Regions from separate parts of the Homo sapiens genome. Here region 2 is linked to region 1. The links are contacts of gene promoters, found by promoter capture Hi-C in human tissues and cell types (Jung and others, 2019). All regions are on one chromosome and are shown on one strand. Each heading gives the region's core, a stretch centred on a gene start or on the middle of the fragment in contact. The rest is flanking DNA. Distances are from core to core; before and after follow the strand shown. Region 1 holds the start of BBOX1 (gamma-butyrobetaine hydroxylase 1). Region 2 has its middle 95 kb from the start of FIBIN.

Region 1 (3,006 bases), core at 259-2,758:
TCTAAAATAGGTTCACAATTCTGCCTGTCTTGCTTAAGGCATTAAATTTCATGCAAACACTTCATTTGTAAATTATACAAAGGAAAACTTTAGCTTCACTTTAGTGGAATCACCATTTTCAGATTGGAAATCAAATTATCAAGGCTTTGTTTTCTGATGTAATGCAAAGTACTGGGTTTAGATTTTAGGAAAATTTCTAAATTATTTAAACCAGAACATATATTCATTATGAGAAACCTTACGTTTTTAATCAAATCCATACCTGTAATATACCTTCTTGAGCTTCGTTAAGGGAACAAAACAATTGAAGATGTGCATAGTGGCTTTAATTGGCCAGCATTTTAAAGAGGCATGTTATAGTCAGCTTTTTGAGCTTAACAAAGAGCTAGGGTATCATATGCAGTCACCATTCTTTGGGATGGGTTGTGGATTATTCAGGGAACATTTTGAAAATCCAACCAGAATCCTCCTTGCCCCATCCCCAGTCTCTTTTTAGACAGCGTTCTCTCTGTCTCTTCTGTTTACTTTCTGGATCAGCTTAGGGATTATAAAGTAATTTGACTATCAGACTAAGCCAAACATAATTGGGAAAGAGAAGCTGCCAAGAAGCAATCAGATCCACTGCATTCCAAAACCAAGCCTATTCTAAATGCTTGATGGACCATCCCCAGCACAGCCCACATGACTGTGAGCTACATGTGAATGGAGTTCTAATTGGATGCTCCCCACCACCTCAGTCCACAGACTTGAATTCACAAACCCTTGCAATAAGGAGAAAAGGAAGATGAGCTCAATCATACCTGTTCTCAGATATGCTTTACACAGCAAACCACCCAAAACTTACCAAGTAAAGAAACTGTCAGCTTTGGTCCTTAGATCCTTTGGAGAGGGAGCATTCTGGTGCCCGTCACATCCCAGGAATGATCTGTCCCCAGTTTCCAATCTGATGTGGTACTTTTTCTTGGAAGCCTTTTTGCTCCTGGCAGTTTCACTGTGGCCCTGCCCCCAGACACAGCTGAGGTTTGTAAATGAGGAAGGATGTCTCAATCTGAAGGTGTAGCAACTACTGAAGGGAGCTTGGAGGTTTTTTGTCTTTGTTTTTTTGTGCTGTGTTTTTTTTAAAAAAAAAAAAAAAAAAGAAAGAAAAGAGGCTTTATGGCCTAGAGGGGAAGCAGTTAGCAAGAGAAAATACTTTGAGTACTGTTGGTTCCCAAAACCACAAAACCCCAGGACTCAATGCAAAGCATTGCCTCAGTTTGGAATCTTTCTTGATAGAAGGAAAAGCAGTTCTCACCTGTCTTACCTTCTATTTCTGTACCAGCAGTGGCAACAGCAGCAAGTGAACAAGCAGTTCACTTCTTTCCCACCTGTTCAGAGTGACAGCTCATTTATTGCACAACTCACTTAGGGCAGAGGCATTGAGATGGGCATTTAACAGGGAGGAGCTACCAGCGCTCACCCTAGCAGAGGTGAAGTGGTATCTACTTGTCAACAGAGTATTCCAATATGAGCCTCTTTAAAGGGAGCTTGAGTAGTTATCAGGGACTGGTAGAAAGACAGGGATTGGTCCCCTAAGCTTGATGCCCTCCTTTCTCTGCAATTTTGGCTGGAATAGGAAGTAGTTTCCAGAGAGCTTGGGGCTGTTTTTGAAGGTACTTGGTTGCCCAGTGATTTGATTCACAACACACAGCCCTTAGGGCAACAAAAGGGAAAGGCCAGAATAGGCAGCATGCCAGCATTCAGAGCCTGACTGCCAGGCATACTCTTGGAGAGTGCCCAGTGTGGGGGAGACCCTGTTGGACTGGTCTCAGGTCCTAGGTCCTAACAGAGTCTAGATTACATTAAAAGAAAGTCTACAGGTGGAAACTAAGGTCCAGGAGAGAGACGCTTGAGTCATCTGCCCTCCTCCCACCTAACACCCTCTTCCTAGGCAGATGTAGAAGCAGCCTGCAACTTGTTGCTTCTTGCCCGAAGGATTCGCAGGGCTGTGAGTGAGACTCAGTCAAAAAAGAACAAGAGGTAGCCACACAGAGAGAAAATGCAGCCCAACTGTCTGGTGGCCTCCTTTATGGGAAATCTCCCCTTCCAGAATGTCAGCATCCCCTCCCTAAACGATGTTTTTTCAGATCCTTTAACAATAAAATTTAAACTGTTTCCCTGCATCTGAAGAAAGGAACCTCTTTTCCACTTTCCTCCTTTCTTCCCCCAAGTCTCCAGGTCAAATTACTGACACCCACTGGCCAGTGAAAACAACAGCAGGTTTTGTTTTCCATGTATGAGAGGAGGGTGTGTATATGTGGGTGCCGTCATAAATGTGACCAGCATCTTAAACCCACGGTAACTGAAGTTATAAGTATGCCAAAAGCAATCAGATAATTATATTTTAATAATTCATGACATCACAGAAATATACACAATGAATTTTTCCTTTACACTTTGTACTTTAGTAACAATTACTGGAATAAATTAGGTAAATTCTGTTTCAGCTTTAAGAAAGTTGCTGACAAGAATGTGCCAGATATAAATAGTTTCTAATGGAATGATTAAATAGAACAAACAATAAATAAACCGACAAGTAAATCTGTTAATAAAGTTTAAAGACTTGCACATAAAGAATTGATTCTCAGAAACAGGTAAATAATCAAAACTCTGCTCTCCACTGTAAGAAGCTTCTTAAATGAACATGGGAGTGCAGCTATCTCTTTGACATACTTATTCTATATCCTCTGGATATATATCCAGAGGTAGGATTGCAGGATTATATGAGAGCTCTATTTTCAATTTTCTGAGGAACCACCATACTGTTTTCCATAACGGTTGTACCAATTTACATTTCCAGCAACAGTGTATGTATTATTCTATTCTCACACTGCTATAAAGACATACCTGACTGGGTAATTTATCAAGTTTACTGACTCATCGTTCTGCATGTCTGGGGAGGCCTCAGGAAACTTACAATCATGGAAGAAGGCAAGAGAGAAGCAAAGGCACATCTTACATGGTGGC
Region 2 (2,982 bases), core at 391-2,890, 140 kb after region 1:
TTTATATGATAGGTCATATGTTAAGTCATTTTTTTTCTTTGTTTCTGTACAACAAGGCATGAGGGGAATAGAAAGGAGACTTGGCTGAAAATTAGAAGACCCAGAATGTAGTGCTATTGTGGCCAAAGTATGGTTGTGTTAACTTGGTCTAATGACTTTTTCTTTCTGGTCTACAATTTACTCACAGGTAAAAAGAGGAATCTGGACTTGAGTAAGCACTATAGCTTTTATCAGCTCCAATACTTTAGAAGATATAGCCCGAGGCTCCACCTTGAACAAATACAGTGCAGGGAGTGTAGAGAGTGAGAAAGGAAAAAAGAGGGAATTTGGGGTCAGGGAAATGTGTCAGATCCTGAGGATCAAGAATGAAGAAGTAGAAGAAAGAGGTAGGTTATATAAGATCAGCTTTGCTTGTAGCACCTACTTCTACACAACAGAAGAGCAAGAAGACCTTTCATGATTAGAGACATGGGGGAAGTGTGTATCACCAAAATGTGGCCTTTCTATCTTTCCTTGTTTCCCACCCATGGAAGCTATGATTTCTGTACCTGAATAATAAAACATAACTAAGAATCAGAGACCAAAATTTGGTGAAATGTTGGAGGCCTAGTGAGGGTTCTGTGGTGTACTTGATTTTAAGAGCAGCAAAGAACATGGAATGTGCTGATACTTTTTGCCCCATGATTTAATGGGGACTGGATGATTGATTCAGTGACATCATGCTTTTACTGCCAACAGGAGCCCTGCTATACGCCATCTTTTATGTGATCCCATGACATCAAAGAAAAGATGGACCAACGTGACTTAAGAAATCTTAGGATGTTTTTACATGGCAGTTTCACTGGAGAAGGCAAAGAATTGTAGCAAATTTAGTGTAAAGGTTTTTTTTTTGTGGGGGGAGGGTAAAGCTTTATTTAGTTTTATTTAGTTAACATTTATGACTAAATTATATACTAACTTATAACCTTTTCCTTTCAATTGCTGCAATGATCCAAATCCCACAACAAATAATGATGGGGCATGCCCAGGAGAAATAGGAATAATGAAAACTCAAAATGTGTCTCTTTTTAGGCCCTGTCTGGTACTCTTGTCACCTTTTTGTGGGCTCTCCGCATTTTGTGACATAATGCACTTGTTCATAAATACTAAAAATGTCTCCAGATAAATTCTAGCACAACCAACATTATGTTGCCAAACATATTACTTATATTTAAATGTACTTATATAAGTTTCTTCCATTATGTTCCTCATTGGATGAAAGATATTAGACTACTTAACTTCTACATATCAAAAAGGATCCCAGTTTGATTTTTCAAAACACCTTAAAACAAACAAAATGAAGTAATGTATAAAATTATATGGCCTTTTCCAAAGAAAGGAAATCACAGAACAGTGAAAAATATAGCCATATGATGCCTGATTATAAAATTGAAGGAAAAAGGAACTTATTTGGGGCAATTCCATGGATTTCTGAATGTTGACCCTTCATTGGGTAATTCTCAGTCAACTTGCAACTTCTTAAGATGCTGTAAATCTATTAAAGTTGTACTTATTATGCTTGAAAGCAATCATTGATGAAATTTGACTTGGGACCTTGAGTTGAAATGTGTTTCATGAATAATGACAAAGCTATATAAACTGGCTCTACTCAGGAATCTATTCATCCCAAAATAATCTATCAGATCTCATAAATCCTAGAATCCTACAGATCTTGGAAAGCATCATTGCAAGTTCTGAATCTCAAATTTTCTGTGGAATGTTACTATTCCATAATCTTGGGGCTCTTTGAGTGTACTATGTGCTATACTCATTGTATGCTATTTAGTAGTCATCATTTTAGGTAGGTTGTGCTCAACAAGAAATAATACATCATGTTAAGTCTATGTGCATGTCCTGAGGCACAACACCGTACTAAAGCCATGCATCTATCCAATCTAATTGGTGTGACTAATAGTCAGACAAGTTGGGCATCAAGGGCTTCCACTGATCAGCTCATGGCCTTTACAAAGTTTTTACTTTTGAGTCCACTGCTGCTGGTCCAAAGACCACACTTTTAGTAGCAAGAGCTGGTCAGTTAAACAGGTGTTTTTTTTTTATTTCTTCTCCTCCTGACAATGGAAGAGTGTCAGCCTTTGCCAGCTATTGCCAGTATTATTATTTTAGGAGATGATAAAACAGAAAAAGTTTATTCTCATGATAGCTGTTTGACGTGGATCTCATGTGTGGAGACTTCTGTGCTTCTTGACAATCAAAGACTGCTGTCACTTAAGGTACCCCAACAACTGTACCTAAAATCTACTGATCAGGCAAATGAACCCAACAAACAGGGAAAAAAAATAGAAGACAGAGAAAAGACATGTTCAAGAGGAATGGTAGTGCTAGAGGAGATAACATGATTTTAAAATGTAAAAGATTACCTATAATGAATCAATTTTTTTTAAGCAATCTTTTTCTGTTTATAAACATGAATTGGGACCTTAAAAAGCATGTAGACAAGTAGAAGAAGGCAAGGGTTATGGTTGAGACCTGTTAGGACCTGGAATAAATATCTCAGAACAAATAAAAATACCAAGAAATGGAAATGATTATGGAAATGTTTCCTGGAGAAGAGATCCAGGATACTTACCATGTTAAAATAATAAAATTTCCAAAGAACGGAAAGAGAATAGTTGAAGAAAAACAACAAATAAATTAGTAACGTATCATGAATATGAAAAAGTACCAACTGAATGTTAGATTGTGAAGATGTTAGATGTTAGAAGAAACATATCTAGGCTTATTCTGGTAAAATTCCACAGCTCCAAGAATAAAGAGAACTCATGAACTTTTGATGCGAAAACAATTTATCTACAAAAATAAAAATCAAATAAGCATTTGATTTTCATATGCAACACTGGAAGCTAAAAAATGGTAGAGTAACTTGTAGAGAATATTAGCAAGAAGGACTGCAACCCAAGTATCACATTTGCTTTCCATGATGAG

The links. The method cuts DNA at HindIII sites, captures the fragments that hold promoters and counts their contacts. A contact is called where the count stands out against the background at its distance.
Region 2: a fragment that was not itself captured here is called in contact with the fragment with the promoter of BBOX1 in region 1 in 2 of the 25 tissues and cell types used here (dorsolateral prefrontal cortex and mesendoderm cells).

Annotation. Positions count from the first base shown.
Region 1 is chr11:27,039,317-27,042,322 of GRCh38, reverse strand. BBOX1 (gamma-butyrobetaine hydroxylase 1) reads right to left here and starts at 1,508. Exons shown (of 9, transcript NM_003986.3): 1 at 1,295-1,508; 2 at 845-1,107. The HindIII fragment of the contact is 6,644 bases long and covers 1-3,006 here.
Region 2 is chr11:26,897,915-26,900,896 of GRCh38, reverse strand. No RefSeq gene overlaps it. Among named protein-coding and RNA genes, the nearest start is that of FIBIN, 95 kb to the left of the region's middle. The HindIII fragment of the contact is 6,455 bases long and covers 1-2,982 here.